2 separate regions of the Homo sapiens genome follow, and region 1 is linked to region 2. Evidence: promoter capture Hi-C in 16 types of primary human blood cells and fetal thymus (Javierre and others, 2016). All regions are on one chromosome and are shown on one strand. Each heading gives the region's core, a stretch centred on a gene start or on the middle of the fragment in contact. The rest is flanking DNA. Distances are from core to core; before and after follow the strand shown. Region 1 has its middle 14 kb from the start of EIF2S2. Region 2 holds the start of SNTA1 (syntrophin alpha 1).

The links. Contacts are between HindIII fragments. The CHiCAGO score rates a contact against its expected background, and 5 or more counts as called.
Region 1: a contact is called between a fragment that was not itself captured here and the fragment with the promoter of SNTA1 in region 2, in 1 of 17 cell types (endothelial precursors). The highest score is 5.0, in endothelial precursors.

What each region holds. Positions count from the first base shown.
Region 1 is chr20:34,122,146-34,129,584 of GRCh38, reverse strand. It overlaps the pseudogene RPS2P1. Among named protein-coding and RNA genes, the nearest start is that of EIF2S2, 14 kb to the right of the region's middle. RefSeq lists a silencer at 4,822-4,891. The HindIII fragment of the contact is 6,261 bases long and covers 1,401-7,439 here.
Region 2 is chr20:33,440,448-33,447,063 of GRCh38, reverse strand. SNTA1 (syntrophin alpha 1) reads left to right here and starts at 3,301. Exons shown (of 8, transcript NM_003098.3): 1 at 3,301-3,753. The coding sequence starts at 3,444. RefSeq lists enhancers at 2,296-2,355, 2,327-2,827, 2,806-2,875 and silencers at 3,106-3,585, 3,696-3,755. The HindIII fragment of the contact is 9,847 bases long and covers 718-6,616 here.

The DNA of each region.
Region 1 (7,439 bases), core at 3,282-5,781, 680 kb before region 2:
ACTTGTCTAACCTGCATTTGAGGTTGTAATGTTACGGGCATCTGAACTGTGGGAGGAGGAGTTGGCCATCGTGGGTTAGACTCTGATGGCCCCAATAGTTCTAGACCTTTTCCCCCCAATTTTGATGGTTCATAATATATTACCTCCTGTAATTGGTTGTAGTCAACATTTTCCGTTGACTGAGCCATTACACTCTTCTACCCTTTTTTTCTTTTTTTTTTTTTCGAGACGGAGTCTCGCTCTGTTGCCCAGGCTGGAGTGCAGTGGTGCCATCTCGGCTCACTGCAAGCTCCGCCTCCCAGGTTCACGCCATTCTCCTGCCTCAGCCTCCCGAGTAGCTGGGACTACAGACACCTGCCACGACGCCTGGCTAAGTTTTTGTATTTTTTTAGTAAAGACAGGGTTTCACTGTGTTAGCCAGGACGGTCTCGATCTCCTGACCTTGTGATCCATCCGCCTCGGCCTCCCACAGTGCTGGGATTACAGGTGTGAGCCACTGCGCCCAGCCAGACTCATCTACCTTTTTATACTGTGAACCTTGCGTTACTTTCTTGAATTCTGTCCCTGCCTCTTCCTCACAATCTATTACACAGCTTTCAGGGGCATCAGAAACTGAAACGCTATCTTCTTCTGTTTGAAATGATTCTAAACCTATTTTAATAATGGCCCAATCATTCCATACTGTAAGTGGGATGATTTTATCCTCCCTATTTGCTTGTTTTAATTCTTTGCCAATTTTTTCCCAGTCTTTTAGATCTAACGTTCCCTATTCTGGAAACCATAGGCAGAATTGTTCTATTGTTTGAAATAGCATGATTAGATTTCTGTGGAGGCTCTAACTCCCCCTCTTCTTAAAATAACTTTAATAAAGCTGAGATAAGAGGCATATTTGCTTTCAGTTTGACCCATTCTTACCCTGGGTTTCTCTGAGTGCACAAGCTTACCACAAGGCTGATCATGGAAGTCTTCGGGAATCTCTCGTCGATTTGTCTTCAATGATCACACTCTAGCGTATCTTCACCGTAGAGAAAGGAACCCACATTGGGCACCAGATGAAGAGGGCCTGCCCCTGCACACCTGTGGGTATTTCTCGCAAGGTGGAGACGAGAGACTGAGAAAAGGAAATAAGACATAGAGACAAAGTATAGCGGAAGAAAAATGGGCCCAGGGACCGGCGCTCAGCAAGTGAGGACCTGCACCAGCGCTGGTCTCTGAGTTCCCTCAGTATTTATTGATCACTATCTTTACTATCTCAGCAAGGGGAATGTGGCGGGGCTATAGGGTGAAGGTGGGGAGAGGATCAGCAGAAGACCATGTGAGCAAAGACTCTGTGTCATGAATAAGTTTAAGAAAAGGTGCTGTGCCTGGATGTGCACAATCGCTAGATTTATGTTTAAGCTTACATAAACACCTCAGTGCAGTAAAGAGTAACAGAGCAGTATTGCCGCCATGATGTCTCATCTCCAGCCATAAGGAGGTTTTCTCCTATCTCAGTAAATAGAATGTATGGTCGGGTTTTACACCGAGACATTCCATTCCCAGGGACGTGCAGGAGACAGATGCCACACTCTTATCTCTACCGCATAGAGGCCTTCCTATTTCACTAATCTCCTTAGCACAGACCCTTTACGGGTGTCGGGCTGGGGGGCTGTAAGGTCTTTCCCTCCCCACGAGGCCATATCTCAGGCTGTCTCAGTCCGGGGAAACCTGGACAATACCCAGGCTTTCTTGGGCAGGGGTCCCTGCGGCCTTCCACAGTGCATTGTGTCCCTGATTAATAGAGAATGGAGAATGGCGATGACTTTCACAAAGCATACTGCCTGCAAACACATTTTTTTTTTTTTTTGAGAAGGAGTGTTGCGCTGTCGCCCAGGCTGGAGTGCAGTGGCACGATCTCGGCTCACTGCAAGCTCTGCCTCCTGGGTTCATGCCATTCTCCTGCCTCAGCCTCCCGAGTAGCTGGGACTACAGGCGCCTACCACCACGCCCAGCTAATTTGTTGTATTTTTAGTAGAGACGGGATTTCACCGTGTTAGCCAGGATGGTCTTGATCTCCAGACCTCGTGATCTGCCCGCCTCAGCCTCCCAAAGTGCTGGGATTACAGGTGTGATTTTTTTTTTTTTTTTTTTTTTGAGACGGAGTCTTGCTCTGTCACCCAGGCTGGAGTGCAGTGGCTCAATCTCGGCTAACTGCAAGCTCCGCCTCCCAGGTTCATGCCATTCTCCTGCCTCAGCCTCCCGAGTAGCTGGGACTACAGGGGCCCGCCACCACGCCTGGCTAATCTTTTGTATTTTTAGTACAGACAGGGTTTCACCATATTAGCCAAGATGATCTCGATCTCCTGACCTCATGATCTGCCCGCCTCGGCCTCCCAAAGTGCTGGGATTACAGGCATGAGCCACTGCGCCTGGCTGCAAAAACATTTTTAACAAAGCACATCCTGCACAGCCCTAAATCCCTTAAAACTTGAGTCAATACAGCACATGTTTTTGTGAGCACAGGGTTGGGACAAGAGTTACAGATTAACAGCATCTCAAAGCAGAACAATTTTTCTTAGTACAGATCAAAATGGAGTTTCTTTTGTCTTACTTTTTCTAGATAGACACAGTAACAGTCTGATCGCTCTTTCTTTTCCCTATACATTTTGAGTTGATTTTTTGCGTATGGTGAGAGACAGGAGTTTAGTTTCATTCTTCTGGATATGGATATCCAGTTTTCCCAACAACATTTTTCCCCAATGTATGTGCTTGGTACCTTTGTCAAAAATCAATTGGCTGTACGTGGATTTATTTCTGGGTTCTCTTTTTGTTCCCTTGGTCTGTGTTTTTATATCAATACCATGCTGTTTTGGTTATTAGAGCCTTGCAGTATATTTTAAATTCAGGTGGTGTGATGCCTCTAGCTTTGTTCTTTTTGCTTAGGATTGCTTTGACTATTTGGACTTTTTGTTCCATACAAATTTTAGGATTTTTTTTCTGTCTTTCTTGTTTTACTAGAGCAAATCCTCCAGTGCTTTCCTAAGAAAAGTTATGTGGGGATGAGGGGTAAATTTCTGATCCTTGCATGCCTAAAAATATACTTATTTATTCCTCATACTTGACTGATAATATGGCTTAGTATAGGAGTTCTAGATTGAAAACGTATTTTCTCTCAGAATTTTGAAAGCCTCCCTATATCGTCTTCTAGCCACTAATGTTACTATGGACAAAAATGCTATTCCTATTACCTGCTCTTTCATAAGTAACCTGTTGCCCTTTCCCTGCCCCCTCCTCACCTCCTATCACCAAGATTTTTGATTTTCTCTTTATCCTTTGTGTTAAAAAATTTCATGATGATGTGCCATAATGTTTTTCCTTTGTTTTGTTTTCTTTCATTATGCTGGGCACTCAGCAGGCTCTGCCACTCTGGAAACTCAGTTTCTTTGATAATTTTCTTCCATTTCTTCTGTATTTCCAGAACTCCTGTTAATCTAATGGTCGACCTTATGGATTCATCCTCTAATTATCTTTTCTCTTTTATTTTTCCATTTGTATTTCTGTTCTACTTTCTGAGAGATTTCCTCAACTTTATATATTAAGACTTATATAAATTATTTATTTTTCTATTATTATTATTTGAGAACAGGTCTTGCTGTATTGCCCAGGCTGGAGTGCAGTGGCATGATCATAGCTCACTGCAGCCTCCATCTCCTGGGCTTGAGCAGCCCTCCTGACTCAGCCTCCTAAGTAGCTGGGACCACATGCATGAGCCACCACAGCTGGCTAATTTTTTTTCTTTTTTTATTATTTATTTATTTATTTATTTATTTATTATTTTTTTGAGATGGAGTCTCGCTCTGTTGCCCAGGCTGGAGTGCAGTAGTGTGATCTCGGCTCACTGCAAGCTCTGCCTCCTGGGTTCATGTCATTCTTCCGCCTCAGCCTCCCTAGTAGCTGGGACTACACGTGTTCGCCATCATGCCCGGCTAATTTTTTGTATTTTTAGTACAGATGGGGTTTCACCATGTTAGCCAGGATGGTCTCGATCTCCTGACCTCGTGATCCGCCCGCCTCGGCCTCCCAAAGTGCTGGGATTACAGGCGTGAGCCACTGAACCAAGCCTAATTTCTCTTTTTAAAAGAATGTTTAGCAGAGAAGAGGTCTATCTAATATTGCCCTGGTTGGTCTTGAACTCCTGGCTTTAAACAATCCTTCTACCTTGGCTTCTCAAAGTGCTGGGATTACAGGCATGAGCCATAATGCCCAGCCAATTTTTCTATTATATTTTTAATTCCCCAGAGCTGTTACTTACTCTATTTTTTTTAGAGCATTTTATCTTTGCTTTATGGATGCAGTATTTTCTATTATCTCTCATAGACTGCTTATTGTTTTTTAAAAATATTTTTCTGTTCTCTTCAGTTTCTGTTCCCTTTGAGTTTCTTTTTTCTCTATTTGATGCTGTCTTTCCTGGTGGAGGTTTATCTTAAATATCTGGTGACCCTTTGTTGTCTCTTCATATTTAAGAGTGAGTCACTAAGTATTTGGAAGCTCTGTGTTAACAGGAAGTTTATCTGTAGGATGATAAAGTGGGTACCTAGGTGTTTTGTTGGGGGACCTCAAATATCAGTATGTATAGATCTTTCCTCTGGGGTTAATTAATTAAAATTAATTCCCTGATATCTTGCCTGGAGAATACAAGCCTTGCTGTCAGCATTCCTGGAATAAATTTCAGCAGGAGGACTGAGTGCGCTTCACCATTCAGCATGTAGACAATTCATCTAATCTCTGTTTTCAGTCTGAAATCCTCCTACCTTAGCCTCCCTGCTATTATATCTTTAGCTGTGCCTGGTATCTCAGTGTCTGGAACTTCTCTACCTCAATTTTGTCCCAGGGGCTGCTAGGGAGATGAAAGGGTAGTTGTCTAAGTGAGTAGGATGGAGAAAAAGACCTGGCAGTTTCACTTCCTATAAAGGCTTTCAGCCAAACCCTCTCTCTTCTGCCTCTCACATCACCTCTGATCTGCTCTGTCCCAGTCCTGACATTCTAGTGTTCTGCAGTACGAATCTGTTTGTCCCTTGTTAGTATAACCCTCAGCAAACATTTAGAATTGTTTTCTCAGCTCAGCTATGGTTTTCCATCTTCCAAAAATTTGTTGATATCCTTAATCTGCTATTGATTTCTTTCTTATTCTCTTTGTCTGTAGACTGGTAAACCTAAAAATGTTAACTCACTGTCACTTCAGTGATTTGGGGAGTGAACAGGGATAAACATATGTGTTTAATCTGTCCAAGCATAAACAGAAGTGCAAGACTGTCAAGATGTCCACTCTTTGCTCCTATTAAAAAAAGTTAGAACCAGAAAATTCATAGATATGGCTGGGCGAGGTGGCTCACGCCTGTAATCCAGCACTTTGGGAGGCCAAGGCGAGTAGATCATGAGGTCAGGAGTTCAAGATCAGCCTGGCCAAGATGATATAACCCCATTTCTACTAAAAATACAAAAATTAGCCAGGCACAGTGGCAGGCGACTGTAATCCCTCCCAGCTACTTGGGAGGCTGAGGCAGAAGAATCGCTTGAAGCTGGGGGACAGAGGTTGCAGTGAGTCAAGATTGCACCACTGCACTCCAGCCTGGGCGACAGAGTAAGACTCCGTCTCCAAAAAAAAAAAAAAAAAAAAAAAGAAAATTCATAGGTAAAATATAGATAAAATTCTACTCTCATAGGCCAATGTGGAAAAAGTAGGAGTCTGAGAGTTGCGGTACATGTGTCCAAGCCCTGTTATTATCATTTACTGGTCTGAAGCTAGGTAAGTTAAATTTTCTGACCATCTGTTTCCTCATCTGTAAAGTGGTGATAATCATCCCTAGATAGTCTATCTTACTTGTAATGATGAAGTAAAATAATTGATATAAATATATAAACATCAAATATATATCATTTATCATAAACTCTATTAGAAGTAGGCACAGTTAAATATATTTTCAGAGGCACTGTAACATAGTAGAAATAATATGGGCTTCAGATTCACACAGACTTGGGCTCAAATTCCATCTCTGTTACTCACTGGGTTATGTTGGGTAAGTGACTGACACTCTCTGAGCCTTCATTAACCTGTTTATAAAATGGGTATAATACTTTTAACCTGACAAGGCTGTTGTTGAGTATTAAATGAGATAATGCATGTAACATCTATAGGGCCTGACACTTAGTAAGTACTCAACAGATATTAATTCTTCCATGTTGGCCCCTAATTTGAGACCAGCTTTTTTTTTTTTTTTCAGGCTTAATTCAGTTTGTTTTTCTTGTATAAAAACCCTATGCTGTAGCCACAGCTGGAGCCTGGGTCCTCTGCATGGAGACTCTGGTGTGGGTCTTGACGAGGTGGTCAGTGAATTCCTGATAGGGAGACTTGGTGAATATAGTCTCCTTCCAGAGGTCGAGGGTCAGGTAGCTGTAGGTCTTAGAGATGGTGTCAAAGGTGGCCTTGGCGAAGTTGCCAGGGTGGCAGTGCAGCCCCTGGCTGAGGTGTGGCAGTCATCAATACCAGCCATCATGAGGAGCTTCTTGGGCACAGGTGCGGAGACGATGCCAGTGCCCCTGGGTGCAGGGATGAGGTGCACCAGCACAGAGCCGCAGCGGCCTGTCACCTTGCAAGGGACGGTGTGGGCTTGTCCATCTTGTTCCCCCGTAGCCTCTGCGCACGGGGACAATGGAGTGCTTGGTCAGGATGACGGACCCGCGGATGGCAGTAGCCACCTCCTTGGAGCACTTAACGCACAGACCGACGTGGCCATTGTAGTCCCCGGTGGCAACAAACGCCTTGAACCTGGTGCGCTGGCCCGCGCGGGTCTGCTTCTGCACCGGCATAATCTTCAAACCCTCTTCCTTGAGAGAGGACCCCAGAAAAAAGTCAATGGTCTCAGATTCCTTGATGGGCAGGGAGAAGAGACATCCTCCAGGTACTTGATCTTCATGTCCTTGACCAGGTGGCCCAGCTTGGTGACGGGCATCTACTCCTTATCCTCGGCCTTGCCTCTGCGAGCTCCATGGCCTCGGCTCCGGCCCAGTCCACGGCCATGACCCTGGCCCCGGATGCCACCGCCGAAACCTCCGCGGAAGCCACCGCGGTTCCCCATCCCTCCCAGGGCTTGCGGGGGCCTCCGCCCGGCCTCCGCCCGGCCTCCACCCGACCTCCGCACCCCACGCCCTGCCGCCCCCTGCACAGGCGTCATCCGCCATTTGGGGATTTGTTGAAGAAGAGCTTTTTTATACTAACATGAAAATCCTGAGCTTGTATTTCATTAGTTCATGCTAAACTACATTGATAATTAGCATCTTAGATCATAAATAGTCCTCATAAAAGTTTATTTATTTGCTGTTTTCCCAGGACCAAATTATAAGGTGAATAGCCCAAATTAAAAGGATTCCTCATACAAGACCTTTGAAGTCAACTGGCTATT
Region 2 (6,616 bases), core at 2,052-4,551:
TGACCTCAGGTGATCCAGCCGCCTAGGCCTCCTAAAGTGCTGGGATTACAGGTGTGAGCCACCGCGCCTGGCCAGAGCTTGCAGAGACTTTAGTAGGCTGGGCAGCTCCCCTCTCTCCCTTTTTTTCCCCTTCCCCCTCTCCTATTCCTTGGGAGTGAACTGGTTTTCTCTGGGAGCTCTGCCTGGGGCTTGGCAGGGAGCCGGGCCTATGTGTATCTATCTGGGAGGCCAATTTCTGAGCCACAGCAGAGAGGCATCGGCTGACCACAGTGTAGGGATAGAGCATTCCTGCAGCTACAGGGTTCTTGGGGGTAGCTACAGGTGATTGGCACTGCCTATCAAGTGTGATCACAAACACACACACCCATACTCACATACAGACGTATACATATGCATACACACGTCACTGTTTCCTTGGCTCTACATCTTCTTTCTGTGTTAGCCCCTTTGCACACATCACTCCTTTCCCTACTTCCTTCCTTCCTGTTATATCCACAGGAAACTGTCCCCCAGAGGAGAAGCCCTCTCTTAGGGCTCTTTCTCAGTAAGTTTGTCTGGGCCTCATTAAGTCTTTTTTAAGCAGGGCAGTACGTGGGGGGACTTTTAAGGATCTGGTTCCAGGCTTTGGTCTTGGGAAAGGAGCTTCAATTCCCTGCTGGTCTCTTGCCTCCTGCCAGGTCTGTCCTCCCCTCCCTTCTCTACCATTGGAGTGAAGCTTCCACAAGCCAAGTAGGCTGTAGTTATTTATCACAAGTGCTTACCCCAAATTCCTCAGGCTGTCCTACAATCTTTAAGCACAGTCATACTTTTAAGATATCAATGCTTATATACAATGCTATATTCCTTCCCTGCCTCCCTTCTCTCCTTCCTTCCTCTCACTTTCTTTTATTTATTTTTGAGACAGGGTCTTGCTCTGTCACCCAGGCTGGAGTGCAGTGGCATGATTGTGGCTCACAGCAGCAGCCTCAAACAGGCCTCCTGCTGCAGCTTCCTAAGTAGCTGGGAGTACAGGTGCACATTACCACGCTTGGCTAATTTCTTTATTTTGTAGAGATGGAGTCTCGTGAAGTTGCCCAAGTGGTCTCAAACTCCTAGCCTCAAGTGATCATTCCTCCTCGGCATCCCATATATATATGTATAAAAGACCCTGGGTTCTTTTTTTAAAACCTGTGTCTCTCCTGTTTTGACACCTACCACTCTAACTTAAAACAATTCCTTTTTTTTGTTGTTGGTTTTTTTTTTTTTTTTTTTTGAGACGGAGTCTCACCCTATCACCCAGGCTGGAGTGCAGTGGTGCAATCTCTGCTTGCTGCAATCTCCGCCTCCCGGGTTCAAGTGATTCTCCTGCCTCAGCCTCCTGAGTAGCTGGGATTATAGGTGTCTGCCACCACGCCCGGCTAATTTTTTTATATTTTTAGTAGAGATGGGGTTTCACCATGTTGGCCAGGCTGAGTCTCAAACTCCTGACCTCGTGATCTACCTGCCTCGGCCTCCTAAAGTGCTGGGATTACAGGCATGAGCCACCATACCTGGCCCCCTCTTTTTTTTCTTGATGGTATCTTATGTGGAGGATTTTACCCAAAAGTTCAGGGAGGCTAAACACTGGTGTAGTCCTACTTATTTATTGCTCAACATATCCCAGCTAGGAATGGAGGATAGAGACAAGGAGCAGGTATGAAGGCCAGTTGAGCTGTGTGATGTGGTGGATTTTTCAGATTACAATCATGCTTTACCTCTGTATTTGTCAGCTGTCTAGCAGAGTGGTTCAGTGCCCAGGCACTGGTGTCAAACAGGCCTGGGTTTGAATCGCAGCTCTTCCTCACTCATAAATGTGTGACCTAGGCCAATTAGACTAAATCCAAGTTTTCCCTTCTGTATAATAGGGGTGCTCTTTTTTCTTGCTCTGTCACCAAGGCTGGAGTGTGATGGTGCAATCACAGCTCACTGCAGCCTGGACCTCCAAGGCTCAAGCGATCCTGCCACCTCAGCTGTGATTACAGGTGTGAGCCACTGTGCCCAGCTGGGGGTGCTCTTAGCTACTCCAGGAGGCTAATGTAAAGATAACACTTGGAAAATATTCTGCCAGCCCTAGGTAAGAGTAAGCATTCACTAAATGAAAGTGATTATTTCTATAGAATAGGGAGTCACAGTTTACCACGTGTTTTCACATTGATTTAATCCTCACACCAGCCCAGTGAAGTAGGTATTATTATGATCCACATTTTACAGATGAGGAAATTGAGGCCTAGAGCAGTGACGTGAGGGGACCAAAGTCGACTTGGAGCTAACAGAGGCAGCAAAGATTAGAAACCATGTCTCCAGTCGCCCAGACCCAGAGCCCCACCTTGCAACCCTCTTCCCACACACCAGTTCTGTTTTTTTTCTGCCAGGCCTCAAAGTGTGGGACTTCAGGCTTTTCTATACTCGACTGTGAACACAGCCAGGGGTTAATCTCTTAAACTTCCCTCCAGTTTTGAAGTGGGGATCCTGCCCACACCTCCCCCAAGCCCTAAGCGGTGTCGGTAGCGGTCTCCTCCAGGGGGCGGGGCCTGTCATCTTTAGAAGCCACGCCAGCGATAAGCCACGCCCACAGACCAAAGCCTCGACCCCCACCCCCCATCCCCCGCCCTCCCCGATAGGAAACCAACTTCTTCCTCAGCTCCCCAACTAGCAACTGTGCCCGCAAGGTCTCTCGCGGCTCAGCATCTACCTTTTTTTTTTTTTTTTTTTTTTGACACAGGGTTTCGCTCTGTCACCCAGGCTGGAGTGCAGTGGCGCGATCGCGGCTTACTGCAGCCTCGAGCTTCTGGGCTGTCATCTAGGCCTCCCAAAGTGTTGGGATTACAGGCGTGAGCCTCCACGCCCAGACGGTGTCTACCTCTTAAACTCAAGCCTTGGAGTCCAACGCTCTACCATACGCAGCCCAGCCCTCCGCCATATGCAGCCCAGCCCGATGCCCAGTGCTTCGCACCAGGATACGTGGTTCTGTCTCTTTTTCATGCGCTCCCACGTCCGGGAGTTACAGTCCCGGCCCTCGATGGGCATTCCGAGCGCCGAGCCCCCTGCGCGGGCTCACTGGGTTCCGCCCCCGACGCGAAGCCCCGCCCCCTGACGCCCCGCCCAGCACCACGCCTCCCGGGCTTTCGCCTTACTTAGTGGCCCGCCCCGCCGCCCTTCTGACCCACCCCGCTAGGTAGTCCCACACGGCGGCCCTCGGCTCCCGGGCCCCGCCCCGGCCTCCTGCATTTGCCCGAGGCCCCCTCCCCAGCACTGGCCACACCCCAGGGTAGCCCCGCCCCCAGAGCTCCTCCCCCAGCGGCCGGGGTAGGGTGGCGGCTGGCCCAGCCGGGCCCCCGCTGCCCTCTGCCCTGGGCGCTTGGTCGGAGCGGGCTGGGCAAAGCGGGACAGGGCGAGCGCGGCGGCCCGGGGGCTCGGAGGCGAAGATGGCGTCCGGCAGGCGCGCCCCGCGCACCGGGCTGCTGGAGCTGCGCGCCGGGGCGGGCTCGGGGGCCGGCGGCGAGCGATGGCAGCGGGTGCTGCTGAGTCTGGCGGAGGACGTGCTGACCGTGAGCCCCGCCGACGGCGACCCTGGTCCCGAGCCCGGCGCTCCGCGGGAGCAGGAGCCCGCGCAGCTCAACGGCGCCGCGGAGCCGGGCGCCGGGCCCCCGCAGCTGCCAGAGGCGCTACTGCTCCAGCGGCGCCGCGTGACGGTGCGCAAGGCCGACGCCGGTGGGCTGGGCATCAGCATCAAAGGTGGGCGCGGGACACCGAGGGCGCGGGGTCGTGGTGTCTGGGGGCAGCCGAGGGCGCAGGGGGCTGGCAGCGCGCCCAGGACATGGAGCTGGAGGCTTCCTGTCTGGGGGTAAGGGGGGTCTGAGGAAACAGGTAACGGAGGGCACTGGGCACACCAAGGTTGGAGGGGGTTTCAGTAGTTGGTGGCCTTAGGGGGCACGGAAGACACAGGTGTGGATAAGATTGTGGGAGCACCAAGGACACGTGGGTGGGAGTTCTGTGTGGAGGCGGGGGGGTCTGAGGGGTAACCAGCATGAACATCAAGGACAAGAGGGGTCCCCCGGAAAGCAGAGTGTGGAGAAAGGGGGTTGAGGCCGGGACACCAGTGGGACAGGGAGGAGGGAGTCCCTGAGAAGCAACCAAGGTGGGTGCAGAGGGGAAGCCTGGAGTCTGGGAAGCACAGGGGTGGATAGGAGGCCTGGGTGCAGGCACAGGCTGGGGTCACAGGCAGAAGGCCAGCAAGGACCTAGGAATCTAAGGACCCAGGAAGGCTGCAGGGAGCCCTGACAGCTGGATTTGGGTCTCCTGATCTGACTATCTCCACCTTGCACAGGATAGAGCTTTCAGCCCCCAGGACTGACCGCTAGTGGGGTGCAGTTAGGGTGCAACCAGACTGTGTTTGAATCCAGGATCAGCTGTGTGAGGTTGCAAAAGTCCCGTCCCGCCTCTGAATCTGTTTCCTCAACTGTATAAGAGGATGACAGAGTTGTGATGTTTCTGAGAGCAGGGCTCACCACACCAGCACACTGTAGGTGCCTAGTTAATTACTGCTGTTAGCGGAGAGGAAAAATGGAGGCCAGCAGATACTCCCAAAGCAACTAAACATAGTTGTTAAAATCCTTGCACACCCCCAGCTGCTGGGTTCACTATTCCTGCCCATCTGTTTCTCAGGGTCCCAGCCCCCAGCAGGTGCTTTGGGAAAGGGTATCAGCCTTTGTCTCCACCTTGAATACATACCGTACCCTCTGGGGTCTCCCTGGTACTGGTTCTGTTGACTAGTGCCTCCAGACCGTTTGGCTTGGCTGAGGCGGTGGGGATGGTGGTGAATGCCACCACTGTGTGCCAGGTGCTGTGCCCAGGACACTAGTCTCATGATCCACTTCATCCTGGCAACAAGTGGTGAAAGGTAGGGAGTATAATTCCCATATTGCAGGTGAAGAAACTGAGACTCAGAAAGTTAAAATGATTTTCCCACGATTACATAGTGAGTGTCAGTGCTGGGATTTGAACCTTAATTATCAGCTACTGTCCCTCAGAGAGTGCTCAGGGAAGTTGATTCTTTCCTGTAGAAGGGCAGATCCCCAGGCAGCCAACCAAGAGGGGCTAAAAAGGAGAAATGAGAAAATGAGGGTATGGGCACCAGTCTTACCCCCAATCTCCAGCATGGGATAGGGCAACAGATGAATCCAAAAATTATACACTCAGTGTGTCAAAGCAGGAAGGAACTTATTCATACAGAATTCCATTCTGCAGATGGACACACTGAGACTCAGAGAGGAGCAGGGACTTTGCAAGGTCACACAAAGTTACTCCCCAGCTCCATAATTCTAGGTGGAGGGGAGGGTACTTTTAGGAGACTTCAGGTATTTCCATTGGATCCAAATCTGGGCTCCTGTTGCCATGGTAACCCCTCCTATAAAGTCTAGCTTAGTCTGAGGCAGCCATGAGTGATCATAGCTTCAAACTGAACTGAAGCCCCTAGTTTCAGGTGGGGGAGGGCAGATATAAATAGAAACCCCTTCCTCTCCTAGACTTCAAGCTCTGTGCAGATAAGCAAACGGTCGGGCCTGTGTGGGCGTCAAGAGAGGTGTTCCAGTCCCAGCTCCGCCACCAGACTTGTGTGACCTTGGAACAATGACCTCCCACTCTGGGCCACTAATTCTTCATCTTCAGTATTCTGGGGATGAGCCAGGAGTGTGATATCTGAGGGCCTGACTTGTCGTCTGTGGTAGGGCTAATAGTGTTGGTTCTGGAGCCTGGAGGCCTAGGTGCAAATACTGGCTTCGCTACTTACTAGTGGAGTGACCTTGGACAAGGGGCTTCCCTCCACACTTCAGTTTCCCTAATAGGAAACTGAACATACCTATGTGATGGGGTATTGTAAAGACGCAATGAATCAACATTGAAAGCATTTAGCACAGTGCTTGGCATTTGGTAAGTGCAACTAAGGTGAACTCTTATTACTATTTCTTATTTTAAAAGGGCATTTAAGAGTTTGGTAATAAAGATGTTTAGTAAAATGTATTAGCTTCTTTTGTATCCAAGATGCCATTCAGGCAGGTTTTTAGAATCTCTAGACTCTAAGGCTTTGGTTTCCAGCCTGGACTTTGGATTGTAAAACATTATGATTGCTAAAGCAGTCTTTTGAGGCCATAGGAATAGCCGACTTGTCTCTTGATTCCGGTTTGAGGGGTATCAGTGGGTTCCCACATTGTTGCCTTTTTGTGTGTGTGTGTGAGACAGTCTTGCTCTGTTGCCCAGGGTGGAGTGCAGTGGTGCGATCTCGGCTCACTGCAATCTCCACCTCCTGGGTTCAAGCAGTTCTCGTGCCTCAGCCTCCTGAGTAGCTGGAATTATAGGCACACACCGCCATGCCTGGCTAATTTTTGTATTTTTGTTTTATTTTGAGATGGAGTCTTGTTCTGTCGCCCATGCTGGAGTGCAGTGGTGTGATCTTGGCTCACTGCAACCTCCACCTCCTGGGTTCAAGCAATTCTGCTGCCTCAGCCTCCTGAGTAGCTGGGACTACAGGCATGTGCCACCAGGCCCAGCTAATTTTTTGTGTTTGTATTTATTTATTTATTTATTTATTTTTTGAGATGGA